2 separate regions of the Homo sapiens genome follow, and region 1 is linked to region 2. Evidence: promoter capture Hi-C in 16 types of primary human blood cells and fetal thymus (Javierre and others, 2016). All regions are on one chromosome and are shown on one strand. The core of a region is centred on a gene start or on the middle of the fragment in contact, and the rest is flanking DNA. Distances in the headings are between cores, read along the strand shown.

The links. Contacts are between HindIII fragments. The CHiCAGO score rates a contact against its expected background, and 5 or more counts as called.
Region 1: a contact is called between a fragment that was not itself captured here and the fragment with the promoter of PITPNM3 in region 2, in 4 of 17 cell types (M1 macrophages, M2 macrophages, M0 macrophages and 1 more). The highest score is 8.8, in M1 macrophages.

Annotation. Positions count from the first base shown.
Region 1 is chr17:5,524,873-5,530,511 of GRCh38, reverse strand. NLRP1 (NLR family pyrin domain containing 1) reads left to right here. Exons shown (of 17, transcript NM_033004.4): 12 at 1-31. All of the region lies in intron 1 of LOC124903902 (a long non-coding RNA gene), which reads right to left. Among named protein-coding and RNA genes, the nearest start is that of MIS12, 41 kb to the right of the region's middle. The HindIII fragment of the contact is 1,603 bases long and covers 1,542-3,144 here.
Region 2 is chr17:6,554,407-6,559,559 of GRCh38, reverse strand. PITPNM3 (PITPNM family member 3) reads left to right here and starts at 3,005. Exons shown (of 20, transcript NM_031220.4): 1 at 3,005-3,175. The coding sequence starts at 3,154. RefSeq lists an enhancer at 4,094-4,740. The HindIII fragment of the contact is 11,474 bases long and covers 1-5,153 here.

The DNA.
Region 1 (5,639 bases), core at 1,094-3,593, 1.0 Mb after region 2:
GTGCACCTCCCTCACTTTGTGGCTCTCCAAGGTAAACAACAGGGAAGGATAGGGAGGAAGGTGGTGGTAATTATGGGCCTGAAAGGGAGTGTAGAATGATAATCTCCTGGGAGAGGGTGTTGTGGCTTCCTTAGAGGGGCCGAGGGGGGGTTATGGAGATGGGGACTAAGATTTTCCTGCATTCCACTCTTCTCTGGACTTATCTTTTTGAAACACATCTCCCAGCCTCATAATTATATCTGCCTAAACTTACTTGAAAGTTTTTATTAAGTGTCATTTATATAGACTGTATCACTCAAGGTCCCAGCAGGAAAGAGATGATATGCTCAGTTGAGATTTTTGAAGAAGCTTTTCAAAGACAGGACCATTTACAAAGTAAGGCTAAGTGAACTAACGAAGAATGTTGGGGCAACAGGGACTAGCAACAATAGGAAGCCATCACTACTCCTACAGGCAGGGAGAAGAAACAGTGTCATCAGACGCCATCTGAGAGCTGGAGCCATGAAACAGGGGCTTCCCATAGAAGATAGTAATCACAAAGTATGATTTTATGTCACCTCCAAAGACTTCCCACAGAGTTCCAAGAAATATCAGCTAACAGTCAAAAATCTCACAAAGGGGAAACAAGGCACCAGAAGTAAGAGCCAGCAGAAACGACAGATACCAGAATCAGTCCCTTAAATCCTTCAGATGCTGAAATTATCAGAAAAAGAACATAAAATAAGTGTGTATAATATGACCAAAAAAAAAAAAGTAACCTTAAAACTATCAGCAAAAAGCAATGAACCATTAAAAATGACAAATCAAAGTTGGAAACTAAATTGACTAAAAAAAATGAAAAAACAAGGCCGGGCGCAGTGGCTCACGCCTGTGATCCCAGGACTTTGGGAGGCCGAGGAGGGCGGATCACGAGGTCAGGAGATTGCGACCATCCTGGCTAACACAGTGAAACCCCGTCTCTACTAAAAATACAAAAATTAGCCGGGCGTGGCGGCAGGCGCCTGTAGTCCCAGCTACTCGGAAGGCTGAGGCAGGAGAATGGCGTGAACCCAGGAGGTGGAGCTTGCAGTGAGCCAAGATCGCACCACTGCACTCCAGCCTGGGCCACAGAGCGAGACTCTGTCTCAAAAAAAAAAAAAAAAGAATAAACAATCAAGTAACTTGTAGGATACCATGATAAGTCCTAATATATATCTAAATGGAATTCCAGAAAGATAAGATAGAAGGGAAAAAAATAGAATATTCAACAAGACAATTGCAAACAAATTTCTGGAAGTATTGAGACATATGAGACTTCTCAGAATGAGAATCCCCAAAACTGCAATGCAGGAAAGAGAGAGAGAAGGGAGAGAAAAAATCAAGATTAGTCTCATTAATGTGAAACTACAGAATAAGAAAGTATGAGGGAAAGCCTTGACATCAGCCAGAAAGAAAGGGTTATAGGTGTGAGCCACTGTGCCCAGCCAATGTCTGTCAATTTAGTGAGCAAGTTAGAAGAATCTGATGTGTCCCCATGTCAAATCATGACTCCAATAGAAGCTTCATTTAATTGCTGATAAAATGATTTGATAAACAATTTATGTTATAGCTTACATCAGTTATAAGCACTTTTATGATTTGTACAGTTTAGCTAGATATTAAATGGGTTTTTAATATTTTTTCTTGTCTTAATTTCTTTATTTCCCAGGAATAGAGGTAAATGAGAATTTATTTTTAATTTCTCATTTGTTAGTTGATATGTTGTAGTATCATCCCAGTAGTTCAATGTATTTTTAGTATCACCTCAAAATAAAGGTATTAACTTTACAGTATGCATATATTAAGGTAATCAAGGCATATATATAAGAAAAATTATTTAGAAGCTAGTAGAAAGAGAAAAATCAAATGAGAAAAATAAAAAGCAGGGAACTGCTCAGTACCCAGAACCAGGAAAGTCTTGTTTGTTGAGGCCACAAAAGTTCAGTAAACAATTCAAGCTGCACACCAGGAGGAGAGCATGGGGCAGGGAAATAGAGTCCCGGGGGCCTCAGGATCCCTGGGGCACCTGGTTGAACAGTCAGGGTCATATGGGCATTCCCTAGGGAAGGTCCCAGACTAAAACAGAATAGAGGGAAGAGGTGCAAGACAGCTCTGGAATTGTAGAGGTCCATTTAGAAAGGAAGAGATTGAGGAGAGGAAACTGATGGCTGAAACAAGAAGCTGGGACAAGTTACTTGTTCCCACCGGGCAATCTATAGAGTAATGAACACAGCCACTACCACAACCAGCCTGCCTCTTCCACAAGTGAGACCGTGGCCAGGGATCCCCAGGTACTCTATCAAGAAGAGAGGGGCCTGGCTAATAGAGTCAGTGGGCTCAGCTCTGTCGTAGCTCTGCCCATGACCAGCAGCAAAAGAACTTGGCTTGCCCCAACCTGGGATGCTCAGGGCTGCACCACCACTCCCTGCTCTAACCAGGGTATTCCAGGAGAAACCTCATGCAGCTAAGGTCTGGAGCCAGAATGTACCACCAGGGCCCGAGGGGACAAAGTCTGCCTTCAGGTCCTGCTCCAGCGCCCCCTCATTCCCCACTCTCAGAGGTGGATGAGCTGGCCCTCCCCATTGTGAGGACTCCCAGGCCATGCCCTGCTCAGTCTCCTGCGTGCATCAAGTGGGCCTGGGAGACGGGATTTGTCCAAGGAATTGGGTGACCCTCCGAGTGCACAGGCATCTAGCTGAAGCCTGCCAGGCTGACAGCCAAATCAGAATAGGAATGAATTCACTGTGCTTGTGGCACTGTCCTTTGTGGCACTGGAACTTGGCCAATAAGAACTGTGAACAATAACTGAGCATCCTGTGCCTGGAACCATGCAAGGTAGTTCCGTATATATTAATATCATCTCTTTTTTCATAATGAACCGGGAAATTAGGCACTACAGTTTTCCCTTGGTGTACCAGTGAGGAAACTGAAGCCGAGAGAGGTGAAGACCCTCTTCCAGAGTTGGGATTCTATCCCAAGTCCTGTTTATCCCAGGCTAAGAGCTACACCCCTACCCCTCCCCAGTCCTGCCCAAGCCCATGTCCCACTAGCCTTCTCTAGACCAAATTCTGAGCCTCACCTTGTGGCCAGATAGGATTTACTCCCTTTGGACTCCGTACACAAGCTTGTACAACCTGCGGCCTGTGGGCCACATGCGGCCCAGGATGGCTTTCGATGAAGCCCAACGTGAATTCGTAAACTTTCTTAAAACATTATGAGACTTTCTTGCGAATTTTTTAAAGCTCACCAGCTATCATTAGTGTTAGTATATTTTACATGTGTGGCCCAAGACAATTCTTCTTCTTCCAATGTGACCCAGGGAAGCCAAAAGATTGGACACCCCTGCCACAGAACAAGAGGCAAAATGCACAGAGGCTGCTTTTAGCTAGCTGTGACCAGCCAGGAAACCAATCCCTGGGGCCGGGCAGGGCCCCTTCCAGAAATGCTTGCTGCCTGCTGTCTGGGCTGCAGCTGTTCATTGCCCTGGAAACGATGACCTCACTGCCTGACACAGGGTCTGATTTAGGACTTGGGCACTGGTGCTTCATCACTGTCGTCGCTGAACGGGTGATGAGTCATTAACTTTCCATGGTGAGTTTTCTCCCACTATAGCTAGAGCTTGAGGCTTTCAGCCTCTCAGCTTCATCACCGTGGCAATGGGCATTCTCACCCTCCTGCAGGACCAGCTCCAGCAGTCATAGGGCCCAGCACAAAATGAAAGCGCGGAGCTCTTCATTCAAAAATGATTAAGAATGTCAAGACCACCAAACATGAAACCAAGCACCAAGCCCTGCTGAGCTCAGGACCCTGTGTGACTGCACAGGCCACACATCCATGAAGCTGGCCTTGTCCTTCGGGTCCTTCGTTCCCCCACCCACCCATCTCCTTCAGCACACACAGACCTCTGCTCTCCACACAACCCTCCCTCCAAGAGGAAGTGAGTTCCCTCATTTTTGTCACACTTGCTCCTCTCTGTGCTGCCTGTGGGAACAAGAACACTTCACACAGACACCTGAGTGGGGTCTCGCCCCATTCCCACTCCCTCCCCCTGCCCACCTACTCAGGAGTTCAACCAGATGAGATGGCTGGAAACCACAGTGGTATCCCTCAGGCCTCAAAACTGTTGTCTTCCTGGAACCAACACTTACTGAATCGTATAACAATATAGAGTCCCAAAACTCAGATTAAGCAAAATGGATATTCAAAATACCTTAGTGGCTGGGTGCAGTGGCTCACACCTGTAATTCCAACACTTTGGGAGGCAGAAACGGGAGGATGACTTGAGCCCAGGAGTCTGAGACAAGCCTGGGCAACATAGTGAGACCCCATCTCCACAAAAAAATATTGAAGAATTAGCCAGGCATGGTGGTGCGCACCTGTAGTTCCAACTACTCAGGAGGCTGAGGTGAGAGGAGCACTTGAGCCTGGAAGGTCAAGGCTACAGTGAGTCATGATCGTGCACTGCACTCCAGCCTGGGTGACAGAGCAAGACTCTGTCTCAAAAAAAAAAAAAATTTAGTAGCTTTTTCTTCCCAGACCCCAAGAGTTACCAAGAGGACTGGGCCGAGTTGTTTGAGGAAGAAACAGAAGGAACCACCACAGCCAGGTGGATAGATTGGTCAAGCTGCATTTTATCTGTAATACGAGCAAGTGGTCCTTATTATCCCCAGGGCTTTATAGACACAAACCCAGTCAATCTGCACAGTGACACCGGGAGGGGGATGCTGTTATCAGCCCCACTTTACAGATGATGCACAGAGAGGGCAAGTAATCTGCTCAGAGTCCCACAGTTGGTAAGAACCCTTGCTGGGAGTCAAAGCCAGGCAGTCCCTATCATTTAGCTGCTCTGCTAGACAACCCTCTAGTGCCCTACCTTCATGTGATGTGGGTCCCACTGTCCCTGCTTGAGTAGGAGAGCCACTGTGCCCCTCAACAGCTCACCTGAGCCTGGAAGGTGCTGACCACACACACTCAGCAGGAAGGGCACGGCCAGGCATCAGGCCACAGGCCCAAGGGCAGCATCTAAAGGAGGGAGAGTCCCCAGGCTCCTGGACAGCAGGAGCAGCAATGTCCCAAGGCAAACACCGGGCATGCGGCTGGGAAAGGAGGAAGGAGCTGACAGGCTTCCATTGGCGGAGCACTTGTCATGCTTTGAGCCATTGTTCTATTTGCTGTCTGTATTCCCCATTGGGCCACAAGCTCTGGAATTGCAGTGCCCATGTCTTTCCTGTTCACAGCTACATCCACAGGGGCTGGCACATTGTCCGTACTCAGTAAGCTTTTGTGTAATAAGCAGATGCAAAGCCCTGGACCCCAGACCCACAGAAACATGCCTACCTCATGATAGCTTTTTCTAAATTTTTCTGGTGCAACCAGCCAAAGGCAGCGTAGGTCTTTCTGCCAGTGAGACTTCCTCCAGTCAACACTCAACCTTCTTCTCCTTCAGACCACAGTCTTCCCCATTGCTTCCCTTCTCTCTCCAATCTATCAGCACAAATATACTGTCAGGTTTGGATGAGGTGACTCTACCACAATCTATGGAAAGGGCAGTATGTGCAAGAAGGGGGGTGACCAGCTCATCTTAACACTGACAGTCCTGCACCCCCAGGAGCCCTCTCGGT
Region 2 (5,153 bases), core at 1,756-4,255:
GATAGCCAGGCCTGGGGTCTGCCATGTCGAGGAGTTGTCTTGCAGCCAGCTCCCACTCCTTACCCACCTGGAGCTCTCCAACCTGTCCACATCTCTGCACACGTCCTCCACAGCCATTGACAGGATGGGCCCCTGCTCATTTTTACTGGTTCTCTGGGCTAGATGCTTGCCTGGGCCTGGGAGCAGCTGGCCACTGTGAAGGCAGGAGCAGAACAAGCTGTGGTCAGAGGAAAGGGCCTGGGTGCCAGGTCTCAGAGAAGGGATTTGATCTGGTCTCCTGGCACAGTAACTCTGGTAACTGGGAGAGTTACTGGCACAGTAACTCTGGTAACTGGGAGGCCCCGTAGGCCCTGGCTGGCTCCTGCCTCTCTTTCCTCCGGGCAGCAGAGGTCAGCGTGGCTAAATTGCTAGTTATCCCTTTCTTCAATTAAGGACAATTCTTCTGACGCAGGAAGTTAACTCCCACCAGTTAATCTAATGGCCTTGAGTTTTGATGTGTTTGCTCTGTCAGAAGGCTGGGCTGGAACTTCCTTGGCAGCTGGTAACAGTCAGTGCCTTCAGGGGCTGCCTTAGGGGCGGACAGAGGCTGGGGTGAAGGTTTAAAGAGGGGAACCATGGATCTGGGCCTCTGAGTCGTGGTTTTCAGGGGACAGATCTGGCTTACTGTCTTCCCATCTGAGAAATGGGGTGTGGAGTGGTCTGGAGAGATGAGTTCTGAAACTCCCATCAACTTGGCACCTCCCCTTAACCGCTCCACCCAGGCCCTTCTGGGTGACTAGTTTAGGGTTTGTGAGGACTAAGTGGTGGGAGGGGAAGGGGTCTGGGTGCCCACCCAGGGAGCATCTGTCAGCAGGTGTTTGCCTGTGTTTGTGTGTACGAGTGTGCCTACACACACCCATGCATGCATCCCTAAGCACACACAAGCACACACACATACACCCCATGCACACATACCCAGGCACACACACAAACACAACGTGAAGCTGTGCCCAGAAGCAGGAGGGCCCTTGATGCCCTCTGGTCACTGCTGCTACTGTGAGCCAGGGCTGGGGAGGAGCTCAGGCCCAGGCGTGTCCCCTCTGTGGCAGGCGCATTGCTTCTTCTGCAGCCAGCGTTCTGTCTCCTGCGTGACCACTCACACCTACAGACCAGGTGGCCAAGCCTGGACATTGTCCAGGCTATCAGGCCTCTGAAACACCTCAGGGAAGGGTGAGGCCAGTGAGGCCCAGTAGACAAAGCACAGGGGCCTGAAATTGATCCTCCATGACCACAAGCACCGAACTTTCTTAGCCCCCACTTCGTTATGTGTATGCTGAGGATAACGCAATGTAGCTGAGAGAGTACATGAGGGTAAATACCGCCTGTTCAATCAATAGTCCTTGTTATTCTCATCCCCAGTCCCATTCTCATAGTGGGGAAAGGCTGCAGGGTCCATTCCTGCTCTCCCAGCTGGTGACCAATGGCAGGTGCTGGTGAACAGCGTTGGATTCAGGAGCCCAGAGCTTCTGAAATTCTACATCTGTTGGAGTTGGTGCTGTCATCTGGCTCTGGGATCCAGAGCTCTTGGGACTCATGGGTTTCCTGGGAGGTGAGCTCTGGCAAACGTGGATGGTTGTTCTCCCTGGGTGAATCCATACTAGGGAGTTTGGGTAGAAGGCCTTGGGAAGCCCTGGTTTTGTTGGGTGAGGTGTCGGAAGGCAGAGCAGAACTCATGGATGGGACATGCGGGTTGTAGATTTCAGCTCAAACGAGTAAGAACATTCTTAAGGCCAGCACTAGCCAAAAAAAAAAAAAAAAAATTAATAAAAGGAAGAACTCTCACTTAAGATACTGAGCTTCCTGTCCTTGGAGGTAACCAACCAGGAGCTGGAGGACTGCTTAGCAGGAATCTTGTGAATGGAGTCAAAGCCCCAGAGAAGGCACTGGACTGAGAGCCCCCATCTAACCCCATGTGTGCCCTGTTTCCATAGAGGAGCTTGCAGGACCCTGGAGCCTGGACCATGGATGGAATTCTCCAGTTGACCTTTTCCCTGTTAAGTGGAGTGGGACAGGGTGGGTTGGGTGCCTGGCTCTACAGATGGTAACTGGGCTTCAGCCTTACCAATTCCTGGGGGAGGCAGGGCACCCTCTCAGTGGAGGGTTGTTACCTCTCAGGCACCGCCAAATACAATTGGCCATCTCCTGCTCTCTTTTGGGGCTGGACTGTGGATCCCTGCTGCCCCTAAACAGAAGTCATAACCCATATCTCCCCGGACCACAAGGCCTGTCCACTAGAATCTCTGCATCCCGATTTAGGAAGTGGAAGGCGGGTACTGCTCACCACCAGGCCGCTGGGGTCCACAAAGCCTGCTCCAGCCTAGAACCCCAGGTGGATGTGCAAGTGTTTTACTTATCCCTTGAGGGTTAAAATCACGGGAATCCTTTCTCTTTTGAGGTTAGGTCAGACGCCATAAATGATCCAGAACCCCTGGAGCGGGGGCTGATGGAGGGGGTCCCTCTCTTGTCTCTGATCCCAGAGCGACTTTCCTCTTGACTTCGTGGGGGCCTCCCTTGGATCCCTGTCCTCCTTCCTCTCTCCGCTCCCTCTGTCCGTCTCTCCCGGAGCCGGAGCCGGGCTCTGGGTCTCTGGTCTCCTCTGAATTTCTCTCTCTCTCCCTCCACCTCGGCGTTCTGGCCCTAGGAGCGTCTCTCTCCAGCGCTGTCTAATAGTCTGTGCGCCCCTCTCCCAGTCCAGGGCCCCGTCTCTGGCCCGCAGTGTCTCGGGCTGTCTCCGCGTCTCTGAGCCCCTGGGCTGCCGCCCCTCGCGCGCTGCGGTGGCCGCGCGGGCCGGAGCGGAGCGGGCTGGAGCGCGGCGGCCACGGCCCGGGGCGGGGGTGCGGGCCCGCGGGGGCGGCGTTGGGCGCCTTCCTTCGTCAGTCCCTCCCCGGCGGCGCGGGGGGTGGGGTGGGGGGGGGGCGCGGCCGCCGCTCGGCGCCTTTAAGGGAGCGGGAGGGAGCGGCGAGGCGGCGGCGGCTGCGGTGGCGGCAGCCGAGGCGAGCGGGGCGGGGGCGCGGGCGCGGCGCTCGGAGTCCGTTCGGGGCCGGAGGCGGTCGGGGCCGGGCCCGGGAAGCGCGAGGAGCGCGCGTAGCGCCGCCGGAGCCCGCCGCCCGGGACATGGCCAAGGCGGGCCGTGCAGGTGAGGGCGGGCGCGGGGAGGGCAGGGCCGGGGCCCGGGGGAGGGACTCGCGCGTCTAGAGGAGGGGCCGCCGGCCCAGGTGAACCCCTCGCGCAGGTGGGCGGAGGTCCCGGGAGGGCGTAGGGGGCGGTAGCGGGGCTGGACCTCCCGCGCGTGGAGAGGGGGCTCCGCGCGCCCCCCGTCCTTCCTGCGCCCCCGGTCACCTCGGGGGACACCGCGTCCCCTTCTCCACGGCCCCGCCGGAAAGGGCCAGGTCTGCGGCGCCCCGGGCCAGTCCCGCCGTTGGGAGCCCTCTGCACCCCGCGGAGGCCCCGGGCAGACCCGGGCTTCGCCACCGAAGGGGATGTCCCGCGGCCGCCGCTTCGTCCCACACCCCAACGCAAACCGGGACGCGCCCCCTGCTCCTGCAGCTCTCTCCATCCAGGACGCCACAACCCCCCGCCCCAGCCCCCGTCACCAGCTCAGTCCAGAGACCCAGATTCCTTCTCGGGAAGGAGGGGAGCCCCGTGCCGCGCCGGCTGCTGGCCGCCCCGCCCCCTCCCCCATCGACCCTGGGACGCAAAGCCTCAGCTGCGGAGGCCTCTTCTGGGGTCCCGTGGGCTCTGCCCTCCCCCAGGCTCAGACGGTGTAGCCTGTGGTTTGAGGGAGCGGGCATTAGTCATTCGTTCATTCATCCAGCCCGACGTTCATTCACTAGCATCTGCTCTGTGCCAGACCCTGAGCTGGGCACCGGGGCTCAGGCGGACTCAGCCCCCCTGCTGCGCCCATGCTGGGGAGACCCAGGCCCGTGACTCATCGGGCACATTCTGGGCCCGATGGTGCCTTGGGAGGCGGGTGGAGGACAGCTGTGCCCACAGGGCCGGCCATACAGTAGGCGGCAGCAAGCCTGGTCTCGGCAGTGCCTCTTGTGAGGCTGGCGTGTGAGAATCTACCATGAACTCACACCCAACCCGTGACGTTGGCTGGTGCCATGCCGTCCCCCAGGACCGGGCGCGACAGTGAAGGAATGGGTGTGAATACCATCGGGCTGTGTGTCAATCCACCCCCAAGCCCGAAAGCTGCCCGGGACCCTGGGCTGCGGACCCGTCTCCCTGTGCAGGCACTGAGCCTGTAAGATTTAGGTGCCTGAGAATGCACTCCCGTTCTGTCCCCAAGGAGTCCTGTCGGGGTGGGGCCGGTTGTGTGAGGCACAGCCAGTATGGAACACAGCTAAACAGCCTTCTCACTCCCCTCCCTTTTCCCCTCCTGAGGGAGGCACTGTGAGATGACACCAAGGAAGCTGAAAAAGGCTTCTTGCCTCCCTCTTTCCTCCACCGTGCCTGGGTCCTCACCCACCCCGACTCCTTAAAATGGCCTGTGGCAGGGCGTGTGTCCCATCTGCTGCCCTACCCTGTGTGTGTGTGAGTGTGTGTGTGCACTGGGACGCCTTGAGCACAGGTCACCTGCCAGGGCACTGTCATCGCAACGGCAGTGAACATTTGCTGCTTGTTCTATGTATTAGGCAGAGTGCTAAGCTCTTTACTGTACCGTGATCCTGGGAGGGAGGAAATGCGACTCTCCCACTTTTAAAACATCTAGAAACAGATACTCAGAGAAATAGCAGCCTCAAGGTGGCTTAGAGGGTCTGGGCAGAGCCTGGACTCACAGCCAGGTCTATTGGACTCGAAGGACTCTCTCTGTCACTGCCCTGATAGGTCACCCCCTTACCAAATGGGGGTGCCAGTCTCAGTCCCTCTGCCTTAGCCTGTGGGTCCTTTGGTCCCTGGGCTGAGAGTCTGTGGGAATTTGTTCCAGTGACAGGTGGAAAAACTGCCCTGCTCTGAGCATCAATGCCTTGTGCTGTTCTAACATTTTGGTTTTTTTCTGCTGCAATTTCACGCTTGGCCCTTTCCCTCGAGGCAACACAGATTCCCCGTGTCTGTAGATCCAGTGCCTGGGCTCCTGCCCCCCACACTCAGCAGTCATCCCAAGGAGTCTG